Linked DNA regions of Homo sapiens: all the other regions are linked to region 2. Evidence: promoter capture Hi-C in 16 types of primary human blood cells and fetal thymus (Javierre and others, 2016). All regions are on one chromosome and are shown on one strand. Each heading gives the region's core, a stretch centred on a gene start or on the middle of the fragment in contact. The rest is flanking DNA. Distances are from core to core; before and after follow the strand shown. Region 1 holds the start of KLK1 (kallikrein 1). Region 2 overlaps MYH14 (myosin heavy chain 14). Region 3 holds the start of KLK11 (kallikrein related peptidase 11). Region 4 holds the start of KLK6 (kallikrein related peptidase 6).

Evidence for each region. Contacts are between HindIII fragments. The CHiCAGO score rates a contact against its expected background, and 5 or more counts as called.
Region 1: a contact is called between the fragment with the promoter of KLK1 here and a fragment that was not itself captured in region 2, in 5 of 17 cell types (total B cells, naive B cells, activated CD4 T cells and 2 more). The highest score is 8.2, in total B cells.
Region 3: a contact is called between the fragment with the promoter of KLK11 here and a fragment that was not itself captured in region 2, in 7 of 17 cell types (naive B cells, fetal thymus, activated CD4 T cells and 4 more). The highest score is 6.9, in naive B cells.
Region 4: the fragment with the promoter of KLK6 here is called in contact with a fragment that was not itself captured in region 2 in 9 of 17 cell types (naive B cells, total B cells, M1 macrophages and 6 more); the score reaches 8.6 in naive B cells.

The regions. Positions count from the first base shown.
Region 1 is chr19:50,822,171-50,825,095 of GRCh38, reverse strand. KLK1 (kallikrein 1) reads left to right here and starts at 1,309. Exons shown (of 5, transcript NM_002257.4): 1 at 1,309-1,393. The coding sequence starts at 1,348. The HindIII fragment of the contact is 16,614 bases long and covers 1-2,925 here.
Region 2 is chr19:50,280,283-50,283,282 of GRCh38, reverse strand. It overlaps MYH14 (myosin heavy chain 14), which reads right to left. Exons shown (of 43, transcript NM_001145809.2): 32 at 2,900-3,000; 33 at 1,441-1,689. Among named protein-coding and RNA genes, the nearest start is that of KCNC3, 48 kb to the left of the region's middle. The HindIII fragment of the contact is 2,331 bases long and covers 248-2,578 here.
Region 3 is chr19:51,025,068-51,027,996 of GRCh38, reverse strand. It overlaps KLK11 (kallikrein related peptidase 11), which reads left to right and starts at 1,381. Exons shown (of 6, transcript NM_001136032.3): 1 at 1,381-1,459; 2 at 2,331-2,405. The coding sequence starts at 2,366. RefSeq lists enhancers at 70-626, 1,186-1,743, 1,744-2,302. The HindIII fragment of the contact is 2,362 bases long and covers 1-2,107 here.
Region 4 is chr19:50,968,338-50,971,307 of GRCh38, reverse strand. It overlaps KLK6 (kallikrein related peptidase 6), which reads left to right and starts at 1,717. Exons shown (of 7, transcript NM_002774.4): 1 at 1,717-1,818; 2 at 2,717-2,767. It overlaps LOC105372442 (a long non-coding RNA gene), which reads right to left. Exons shown (of 7, transcript XR_007067308.1): 4 at 2,955-2,970. The HindIII fragment of the contact is 4,765 bases long and covers 1-2,970 here.

The sequences.
Region 1 (2,925 bases), core at 60-2,559, 540 kb before region 2:
AAACCCCATCTCTACTAAAAATACTAAAAAAATTTAGCCGGGCGTGGTGGCACACGACTGTAATCCTAGCTACTTGGGAGGGTGATGTGGGAGGATCGCTTGAACTTAGGAGGCAGGAGTTGCAGTGAGCCGAGATCGCGCCACTGCACTCCAGCCTGGTGACAGAGCAAGACTCCATCTCAGAAAAAAAAAAAAAAAAAAAAAGATTTAGTTCTGGGCTTCCTGGTAGCCATGGCAAAAAGGCAAATACTGTCCTTTCCTTAGCCAGGTCCCTGATATACAGCAGAGGCTGGAACTCTGAGCTGCTTTGATTTTACCAAAAAGCCAAGACAACCTGTTGGAAGCCTATGGGTTTACCATTGAGGCTGCAGGAATCTAGTTCCTAATTATCTTCAGAGACCACAAAATGTGATGTTCAAGGTCGCTGAATGTTGAAGTACATGAACCTGGCTCGTGAGACCTAAATATTGTACTGGTGGTGGGGGGGAAGGGTCATTGGAATCTGTGGTTAGCCTGATCTTGACCTGGGAGGGAAGGTTGTCCAGATCTCTGGGACTTTGGAGGACAGGACGTTGAGCACCCATAACTGGGAGCAAGAAGTGGGAGGCTCATTGAGACCCCAGCATTGTTTGGGAGGGACACTGGATTTTGTAATGCTAAAGAACTTACCCTGGGAGACCCCTGAAACTTCACATTCCTGGATCTGGAGGCACTAGGAATGTGGTGATGTGTACCCCAAAATTTTATTATGAAAGGAACAGTAGCTTTGGGGACCTAGGTCCTGGGTCTGGGAGTGCAAGAACCAGGGCATTCTGAAGGCCAAGGCTTATATTTCAGGGGGAACTGGCAGCTGAGATGCTAGTATCTTGGCTCCGAGTGGTGCAGGGAATCAGAGCCCTAACTGCTGGTGTTTGAGGGCACCAGGTCTGGGGGTGCAGGGCCTTAATTGAGACTGAGGTATATGGGGCTTTGTACCAGGGGTCACTGATTCCTCCGTCTTCCTGTTTCTGCTTCCCCTCAGTCCCCCCTTGCCTCACTGGCTGCTCCCCAGAGCAAAGCCCCAGAGCCACAGGCCCTGCCCCACCTGGCTTCAACCCCAGGAATGCGTCCAGCGTGATCCAGGGCCTGCAGAACAGGTGCTGGTTCTCCCTCCCCGTCTACAGCTCTGGGGATCGGAGGGGGGGGGGGCAATTGTCCAGCCCCCAGGCAACAGGGGAAGGGCCTTGGCCAACATCTGGGTGCCAGCAGGGCAGGGGTGGGGCTCTGAGGGGATAAGGGCTTTTAAAAGCCTCCCCAGGGAGGTTCCCCAGTTCCTCCACCTGCTGGCCCCTGGACACCTCTGTCACCATGTGGTTCCTGGTTCTGTGCCTCGCCCTGTCCCTGGGGGGGACTGGTGAGACAGTGGGGGGATGTGGGAGGGGGAACGGGCCCTGATTCTCTTGCTGGCCTCACATCCCCCCCCGATAAGACCTTCCCCTCCAACACCCCACCCTCATCCCTCTGGCCCACAGTCTATCCTAGTCCGGGGTGCCCCGGCTCTTATCTATCTTGCGCGGCCCCACCCTAAACTTCCACCCCCGCTCCTCCATGTTGTCATAGTGCTCACTCCCACACCAGATTCCTGCTCCTCCCAGGAAGCCTCAGTACTTTCTCCTCTTCCCTAGCCAACGCCCTGTCCCACCGCTTTACCAAAGGGGCAGATTCTGGGCCATCTCTGTCTCTCTCTGGAGGACCCCAACCCTCCCATGGGCTTCCCCCACCCCACAGGACTCTGATCATCCCCTCCTGCCCCCTAGTTCCCTGCGGCCACCTATTTGGCTCCTGAGTCTACAAATCCCACCACACTCCAGTGACTTTTTCCATCCAGCTGTCCGCTCTCAACTGTGTCCTCCAGACCCTGACATCTGGTCTCCCCAGTCCTTCCAGGGTCCCCCAAATTTCACCAGAAAACCCTGCTTCCCAAACTGGCATGTGGGATCCCCCATCTGGTATGGGGGGGGGTCTGCAAATGTCCCTTCCCACCCAGCACCCCCAGCTCTCCCAGGAAAAACACCACACCCTCCCACCACATGCTCCTTTCCTTGGGGAAGTTCCATCCCGCCCCAGGCCCCAGCCCTTCTCTGCCTGAATTGTTCCTACACAGCTCTGGTTTTCTGGAACCCCACCCCAAGGATCCTGAATGCCTTCTCAGCCAGCGCTTCTGCCCTGGCCTCCCCCAAGTCAGTATGTGATTCTACAACCTCACGTCAAGTGGGTCCTGCATTGCATTCCCACAGCTGCTTGGCGCCTGTTCTCACCACTTCTCCAATCCTCTTCCTAGGATTGCCTCCAAGAGGACCCCATATCCTTCCAGTACCCTCAGACCATGAACCCCATCCCCATGAGAAACGAAGATCCCATCCTTCACCCTGTCCGAGAAGGACTGCCACTCACGCCTCCCTCCTCCTGAGCCCCGTCCCAGTCCTGACCGCAACTGTGTTCTCAGGGCCCCAACCTCCCCTCAGATTGCCATTCCTGGTTCACAGGAAGGACCCCAAAACCTCTCGGAAGCCCACCTCTAGCCTTAACCATAGCCCTTTCTTTTACCCTTTAACCAGGAAGCCCTGAAATCTAACTGTCCCAGCCAAGCTGGCCCCTTCCAACCCCAATGTAGGGACCCCAAGTCACCCCCAAACTCTTCAGTCCAGATGCTCTTCTTTACCTCTCAGACCTGGTTCCCTAAAGCTGCATCCTTTCCTGAACCTCAAAAGCCCAACCCAGGTCCTGTTTCCCTAGCCTAGGAGCCCCTTAGCCCTCCAGATTCTTCCTCAGTGAGCCTCTGATCCTGTCCCACCCTTGGCGCCTTGATCCCTGGTTTCCAGAATCCCTTTCCACTCCCCTAACCCACCACCTCCCATCCCCCAGCCCCAGACCCCAAATGACCTG
Region 2 (3,000 bases), core at 164-2,663:
CCAGGCATGGTGGTGCACACCTGTAATCCCAGCTACTTGGGAGGCTGAGGCACGAGAATCGCTTGAACCTGAGAGGTGGAGGTTGCAGTGAGCTGAGATCGTGCCACTGCACTCTAGCCTTGGTGACACAGCGAGACTCTGTCTCAAAAAAAAAAAATTATTTTGAGTAAAATAAGCCCATCCCAAAAGAGATTTATGTGAAAATAATTTATATAAAATTCCAGAAGATGCCAAAAATAATAAAGCTTCAATGACCTGTGGAAGAGTATTACAATCAAATCATATGTATTTGGAGTCCAAGAAGAAGGGGAAGGAGAGAGAGTGGGAGATAAAAATATTTGAAGAAATAATGGCTGAAATGTTCCACATTTGATCAAAAACATCAACCCACAGCTACAGGAAGCACAGTGAATCTAAAGCAGGATAAATACAAAAAACCCACAGCTGGGCATATCACAGTCAAACCACTAAGAACCAAACATAAAGAGAGAAATCGTAAGTCAGCTAGAAAAACATACTGCACCACCTACAGGGAAATGACAATTTAAAAAAATTTTTTTTAATTTTTTATTTTTTTTTTGAGATGGAGTCTTGCTCTATCACCCAGGCCGGAGTGCAGTGGCACGATCTTGGCTCACTGCAACCTCCGCCTTTCCAGTTCAAGTGATTCTCCTGCCTCAGCCTCCCGAGTAGCTAGGATTACAGGCGCACACCGCCATGCCCAGCTAATTTTTTTGTATTTTAGTAGAGACGGGGTTTCACCGTGTTGCCCATGCTGGTTGTGAACTCCTGAGCTCAGGCAATCCGCCCGCCTTGGCCTCCCAAAGTGCTGGGATTACAGGCATGAGCCACAGTGCCCAGCTTCACACTGCATTTTCTAAATGAATAAAATAAAGCACAGAGAGGTTGAGCAATTTGCCCAAGCCACACAGCCATCAAGAGGCCGAATTGGGATCTGAACCTCAGGATTGCCTGATCTGAACTCTCTAAGGTTCTGTGATTTTTATTTCATCCTCAGGCTGCCAGATGCTTGGTATTATTGCCATTTTCCAGATGGGCGAACTGAAGCTGAGATGGAAAAAGCAACTTGCCTGAGGTACCCCGTGAATCAGCAGAAGTGAGATGAGTTATTTGATTTAATTCTCATAAGCAATCTCTGGGGTACTGAAGGTATTCGTATATTTTGTCATCCAAAAACCAGGGCAGCTCTGAAAGTAAAAGTGGGTGCTACGAGGAATTATGCTGTGGCAAGAGGCATGAATCAGGACAGAGGGATGTCCTATTTTACAGAGGCCCAGAGCAAAGAAGGGTCTTGCTTCCTGGTCCACTACAACTGCCTAGTTGAGCCGTGACAGCACGGATTACTGGTTCCTCACAACGACCATGGGAAGCGTAGATGGACTTGCTGATTCCCCGGCTGGGTGAACTGAGGTGCCCCACCTGGTCAAACTTGCGCTGCTTCTTCTCCAGGGTGCTCACAAGCTGCCGCTGCTGCTCCAGGTCCATGGTGGCGTCGTCCAGCTCCTGCTGCAGCCGGCGGCGGCCCCGCTCCAGCCGATCCACGGTCTCTGTCTTTTCTGCCAGGCGCTGGGTCAGGGCCTCGGCCTCCCGGGCTGCCCGGCGCCGTGCCTCCTCCCCTGCCTCCAGTGCCCCTGCCTCCTCCTCCTGGCGCCGCCGCCACTCGGAAAGCTGAGGGGAGGAGAGAGAGGGTGGTTGGTGGTCACGGCCATGAGTGACCAAGGTGTAAGCTGGTGGTGCTCCATTTCCAGGATGAAGAGACTGAGGCCTGAAGAGGGAAAGGGGTCATTCTGCTGGGCTCTTCTGCCTCTGAGTGGTGTGAAGTTGTGAATACTATGAGCCCTAGTTCTTCCAGGGAATTAAAATTACTCCCTCCAAGATGCAGAGGTGAATCAGACCTGGAGTCTTTCCTGGGGAGCCCCTCGGCTGCTGGGGGAGACACAGAGTCACAGCCAGGGTGATAGGGGTTAAGGTAGCAGTATGGGAGCTATGGAGGTCCACAGGAAGTGCCCAGAATCTGTTTAGAACATTCAGGAGAAACTTCCTGAAGGAGGAGCATTTGAGATGGGTCTTGAAGTATGCATAGAAGTCTGCCAGTTGAAGGATATCTGCAGGCACGTACCATCACTCATTCATTCAATAGGCATTTCTCAACGCCTACCATACATCAGGCCCTATATCAGGCTGTGCTACAGACCTGGATCTAACTCTGATGGGATTCTAGTTTGAAGGGGCTCTCAGTCTGGTGGGGAGACTCATGGGCAGAGACAGTCCCAGCCCAAGGTGACTGGAGTTGGGACAGAGGAGAAAGAGAAGACGGGTCAGGAAACTTCCCACAGGGGAGCCTAATGCTAAGTCTGGAAAAATAAAAGGTTTTTTTCAAATAAAATAGGAAAGTAGAGATAGAGATGAATACAGCTAAAGGCAGAGGAAGGACCAGAGATTGCAGGGCCTCAATGCCTGACTGAGAGGCATGGACTTTGTCTAGGAGTACTGGGGAGGCGTGGGAGAGCTGTGAGCAGAGGAGGGACAGGGTCAGCTCCAGGTAAAGAAAGAAGCTTCTGGGGCTGTGCAGGGGATGAGCTGTTAGGGGAGAGGCTGGAGGCCCAGAGGCCAAGAGGAGGATCTAGATGGGAGAGGACGGCACTGGAGCTGGGGCTGAGCTGGAGCTGGGACAAGGGATGAGGCTGAGAGTCAGGGGTCAGGACAGCCAGGGCTGGGCATGGGCTGTGGGGGGTAAGGGGGAGTCAGAGATGAGAAAGGCACCCATGGGTCTGGCCTATGAGAAGGTGGGCAGCATGGCCATCCCTGAGCTGGGGAACCCAGGAGGAGCAGTGAGGGGGGCTGTGCCTCCCTGAAGGTCTTACGTAGGGCTGCTCACCTGGGCCTGGGCAGTCTGCAGTTCACGGCCCGCCCGTTCCCTGGCAGCTGCCTCCTCCTCCAGCTGCTCACGCAGCCCGGCTGCCTCAGCCTCCATGGCTC
Region 3 (2,929 bases), core at 132-2,631, 740 kb before region 2:
TCTTTAATCCTCCTGCCCACCCCTTGGATTCTGTCTCCACTGGGACTCAAGAGGTGAGGAGAGACCATCTCCCCAAATGCACTGAAGGGAAACTGGAGGAGGGAGGGAGTGAGGGGTGATCATACCAGCGGAGGCACATTTGCTGAGCCCCCCCGCAGTCTGCTCTTTCCAAGTGGACCCTCCTGGAAGCCTGATCCCAACCTCCCCTGCAAGCAGGTCTGTCACCCCCATCTCTCAGATGAAGAAACTGAGCCTTGCAGGGGTGGAGTCCCTTGTCCCCACGTCATAAGGGTAGTCATAGTAGTAGGAAGAGGAAGCACCTAGGTTTGAGGCCAGGGCTGGCTGCTGTCAGAACCTAGGCCCTCCCCTGCCTTGCTCCACACCTGGTCAGGGGAGAGAGGGGAGGAAAGCCAAGGGAAGGGACCTAACTGAAAACAAACAAGCTGGGAGAAGCAGGAATCTGCGCTCGGGTTCCGCAGATGCAGAGGTTGAGGTGGCTGCGGGACTGGAAGTCATCGGGCAGAGGTCTCACAGCAGCCAGTAAGTGAACAGCTGGACTCGGGCTGCCTGGGCGGCAGGGAGAAGCGGGCAGGGGAAGGGTCAGCAGAGGAGCGAGGCCCCAGAGGAGCCCTGGGGTGGAGCACAGCCAAGGGCTCTGTTCCCTTTCCTGGACTCGGCTTCCACAGGCCCTGACCTGCCTCCCCCACCCTCCGGTCCTGCCCCTGTGCCTGGCAGCAGCCCCACCTGTGTGACATCCCAGCACACCCCCCCTCTCCTTGCAAAGGAGAAGGGAGCGGCCTAGGGGAGGCCAGGGGCCCACCTGGGCTGGGGCTGTGGAGAGGGAGTGGCTGGGACGGGAGGAAAAAGAGAGACGGAGATTAGATGGAAGAAGAGGGATTTCAAGACAAATTGCCAGAGATGCAGTCAGAGAGACTGACTGAGAGACACAAAGATAGAAGGAATTAGAGAAAGGGCCACACAGAGCCAGACAGAGAGAGAAGAGTGGAGATGGAGACAGGGACGAGGACAGAGAAAGGCAGACAGACACATAGGGACAGAAAGAGAAAAATCACACAAAGTCAGAATTACTGAATGACAGGGAATGACACATAGAACGAGACACAGATTCAGAGACTCAGGGCAGGGAAAGGAAGGCTGCAGACAGACAGACAGACAGAGGGAGGCTGAGACACAGGGAGAAGAGGGGCTTGGAGAGGTGGCACAGGCAGGCAGCCAGTGCCTCAGAGGCCTCCGGGGAGGGCCCTCACACACACCCCGCCCCGGGGCATTAAGGCAGGGCTTGGAGGCCAGTCATCCTGGGCCCGCCCAGGGCCGCCCCCCTGCCAGCCCGCCTGCCTGGTGCCTGGCACCTGGCGCTCCAACCCAGCCTACCTGCTGTAGCTGCCGCCACTGCCGTCTCCGCCGCCACTGGGCCCCCAGAGCCCCAGCCCCAGAGCCTGTGAGTCCAGGAGGAAAGGGAAGCTGCCCCTCCCCGTCCAGGTGTCAGCCCTCCCCAAGGACACCTGTCCCACTCGGGCACCCATTTCTCCCTCTGCTCTGTCCTTCTCTGCTTGGGTGGGGGTTCCTGGCCTCTCTCTACACCTCTCACCTCCGATGGCTGTCCGCAGCCTCAGTTACCTCTAATCTCCATGGCTTCAGCTGCTGAGCTGGCCCTCTGCTCCCACCCCCGCTGGCCAGGGCAGCGGAGGGCACTGGCCCTCCCCTCGACCAGCCCCGCCCAGCTTTGCTTGGCTGTCCTTCAAAAGGGCAGGGGTTTGGCGGACAGGGCTTCAGCAAGCCGGGTGATGGGGGTCCCAGACATTGTCTGGGGCTGAGCCCCCTACTCCCCTCCAGCAGACCTCAAAGGCTCCATATCGCTCTGCTGCGAAGACAATGAAAAAGGGGTGGCTACGGAACGGTGTCTGGTTCCCCTTGTCCTTCCACCCCAAGCTGCTGGGGCCTGGCCAGCTCTCAAGGCAAGAAGGAAAACATCCTCTGACATGTGCCGGGGAGGTCCCATGGCTGACTTGAACAGGGCCGAACCATGGCTTGACAGCTCAAAGCCCCTCCCAACGACTTCCACATGGTTCTTGGTATCTCGGAAGCTTCTAGCTGTGACCAGGCCCTCTCCAAGGCCACCCTAGACACCTAAGATATATTTTAAGTGTTTGGAGATCTGAGTGCTGTGAGAAACAGGGGATTTCCCCAACCTTGTTTCTCCCAAGTGGGGAGCGGGAGCAGGTGAGGGAGAGAGGAGAGGGCATGAGCCAGCCCCCCCCTCCCGATTTCCCCGTAAAGTGATGCGGCCCCATGTCCCTCCTTGTTCCCAGAGGAACCTGGGGCCCGCTCCTCCCCCCTCCAGGCCATGAGGATTCTGCAGTTAATCCTGCTTGCTCTGGCAACAGGTACGCAGGGGATGGGGGCAGGGCAGGATCCTCCCTCTTGAATCTCTGGGATCCCCTAACCCTCTGTGTCTGGACAGTGACAGGGCTGATTCCAAATTACAGAACAACCCATAAGGCACCTGAACTGGAGCAGTGGTCATGAGGGCCTGGATGCCCTTCTAGATAATCCCTTTAAATGCCAAAGGAGGAGAGGTCAAGGGGGTCGTAAAGGGTCCCGTGGAGGGGCTGAGGAAGCTGGAGTTGGGGGAGCAGTCACTCAAAGCGCCCAGGACAGGGGCTACTGACCAACCAGTATGGAAGTATTTCCTTTTTTTTTTTTCCCAGAGACAAAGTCTTGCTCTATTGTCCAGGCTGGAGTGCCGTGGTGCCAACACGGCTCACTGCAGTCTTGACTTCCCGGGCTTAAGTGATCCTTAAGCCATCTCAGCTTCCCCGGTAGCTGGGACCACAGGCACCTGCCACCAAGCCAGGCTAATTGTTTAATTGTTTGTAGAGATGGGGGAGGAGGTCTCACTATGTTTGCC
Region 4 (2,970 bases), core at 468-2,967, 690 kb before region 2:
TTGTGCAACATCAGACTTGCTGTCTGTGAAGATAGCACGTCCTGAGAAGAAGGTGCTGAGGTCAGTGGGGACCAAATGTGAGAGGGAGCACCCGGAGAGTATACTGAATACCGAAGTAGTCTTCATCCCTGGAGTGATGGGGGGTGCACAATGCAAGATGACAATTAGATTCAATGCAAGACAAAGAAAAGGGTTGGCTGGGAACAGTGGCTCATGCCTATGGTCCCAGCTCCTGGGAAGACTGAGGCGGGAGGGTCGCTTGAGCCCAGGAGGGTTGAGGCTGCCACGAGCAAGGATCGTGCCACTGCACTCCAGCCTAGGCGACAGAACAAGACCTTGTCTCAAAAGAAAAAAGAACTTTTTTTTTTAAGTTACCTGTAGTGCCCAGCCCAAGCAGGTGCTGAGCCAGACTTCATTCCTATCATTGTCCTTATTACGCAGTGACTTCCCCCTCCTCATTTCTCTCCACTCTGCCACGCACACACCCTCACCCTCCAGCCCATACCAACCACCCCAACCACTGCCTGTGGTTTCCCATGTGCACCCAGGCCAGGCATTTTCACGGCCTTTCCTCCTGACCTACGCCTGGCTCAGCTTTCTAGGCCCAAGTTCAAAGACACCTCCCTAAATCTTCCCAGATCCCTCTGCTACTGCCCAGCACCACCATCTTATCACAGCCCCACGTCGTTCCCAAGTGCTCTCCGATTTCTGCTTAACTCCATGCCTCTCGCTGTGTGTCCGCATCTCATCAATAAGTCCTCAAGTCCTCTTCCATCCTGCTAGCTTCCTCATCGCTCGGGAATCATCCCCGCTACTTCCTGGGGAAACTGACTCCCTTCTGGGCACACACAGTGCTACCCCCGGGGAAATCTAAGAAGAGACCCAGGAGAAGATAAGCACGGAGAGTCAGAGAATCAAGGGGAAAGAAAGGGAGAGAGGCCGGGCACAGTGGCTCACACCTGTAATCCAGCACTTTGGGAGGCCAAGGTGGGTGGATCACCTGAGGTCAGGAGTTTGAGACCAGCCTGGCCAACATGGTGAAACCTCTTCCCTACTAAAAATACAAAAAACATTTAGCCGGGCGTGGTGGTGGGTGCCTGTAATCCCAGCTACTTGGGAAGCTGAGGCAGGAGAACTGCTTGAACTCAGGAGGCGGAGGTTGCAGTGAACTGAGATCACACCACTGCACTCCAGCCTGAGTGACAGAGCAAGACTCCGTCAAAAAAAAAGAAAGAAAGAAAGAAAAGAAGGAAGGAAAGAAAGAAGGAAGGAAGGAAGGGAGGAAGGGAGAGAGGAAGGGAGAGAGGAAGGGAGAGAGAGAAAAAAAGAGGGAGAGAGACACAAATACAGAGACTGAGATGGGAGAGAGAGAGAGATGGAAGCTCCCTCCCCTCCATGGCCAGGGAGACAGATGGAGCAAGAGACCTCAGGGGTGGGCAGACTTGGAGGAGAAGGACCAGGAGGATGTGGAGTGCCGAAATCTCCAGTCAGGGCCAGGTGGGCAGTCAGAGACTGCAAAGGAGGACTGTCAGACAGGGACAAAAGGAAGCCATTGATGTAACCGCCCTCCCGCCTGCCCGCCGGAAGAGAGGTTGAGGCCGGAGCTGCTGGGAGCATGGCACTGGGGTGCTGGGGGCGGACAAAGCCCGATTGTTCCTGGGCCCTTTCCCCATCGCGCCTGGGCCTGCTCCCCAGCCCGGGGCAGGGGCGGGGGCCAGTGTGGTGACACACGCTGTAGCTGTCTCCCCGGCTGGCTGGCTCGCTCTCTCCTGGGGACACAGAGGTCGGCAGGCAGCACACAGAGGGACCTACGGGCAGGTGTGTGAGTCACCCCAACCGCACTGAACCTGGGCAGGCTGCTTCCCAGTGCCGGAGGGCTCTAGAGCCCGGAGTGAGGGCCTGCAGGTCCCTGGGTGGCACAGAGAGTGCTGGGGGTGCAGGGAGGCCTGGGGCACCATCTGCTTGCCCCAGAGGCCGGAATTTGTCTTCAGACACTTTCTTTCTCCAAAACCCGGAGGTCTAAGGACTGAGCCGACTAGAACTTCCTCTGCCTCAGATTCAGGCCCCAGCCCCTCCTCCCTCAGACCCAGGAGTTTAGGTCCTAGCCCCTCCTCCCTCAGACCCAGGAGTCCAAGTTCCCACCTCCTCCCTCAGACTCAGGAGTCCAGGCCCCCAGCCCCTCCTCCCTCAGACCCAGGAGTCCAAGTTCTCACCTCCTCCCTCAGACCCAGGAGTCCAGGCCCCAAGCCCCTCCTCCCTCAGACGCAAGGGTCCAGGCCCCCAGCCCCTCCTCCCTCAGACTCAGGAGTCCAGGCCCCCAAGCCCCTCCTCCCTCAGACCCAGGAGTCCAGGCCCTCACTGCACTCAGGGACCAGTGCTCCCTTCCCTGGAGGCCTGGTCAGGGGTCACCAAGAGCAGAGCGTGGGGGCGGGAGGAATGTGTGTGGGAGGCCTGGGTAAGGAGGAAAAGGGTGTAGCCAGTCTCCTGGCTCAGGGACCTGAGAGACAGGGGTTAAAAGGACGTTCCAGAAGCATCTGGGGACAGAACCAGCCTCTTCCAGGGAGGCCTGGGAGCTGGGGGTGTGTGTCTGGCAGTCCCTGCAGCCCTGGGCTCTGCGGCCCCTGCGTCCTCCGCTTGGCTCTGCCACTGCATCTGAGTGTCTTCTCTCCTCACGGCTCCCCGCATTTCTAACTCTTTCTGCCTCCTCGTCTCAAAGCTGTTCCTTCCCCCGACTCAAGAATCCCCGGAGCCCGGAGGCCTGCAGCAGGTGAGATCACAGACATCACAGAACCTGCCGGGTGGGCGGGGTGGGTGGCCATTGCGCACAGAGCCAGGCTCCGAGGAAAACTCCCATACAGAGGAAGAACGCTAGGGCCCCCTAGGGTAACCCTCTCCTGTCGACAGGAAGGCAAATCAGTGCCCAAGAAAGTAGAAAGATCTAATCAGAATCTCACCATGGGTTACTGGACC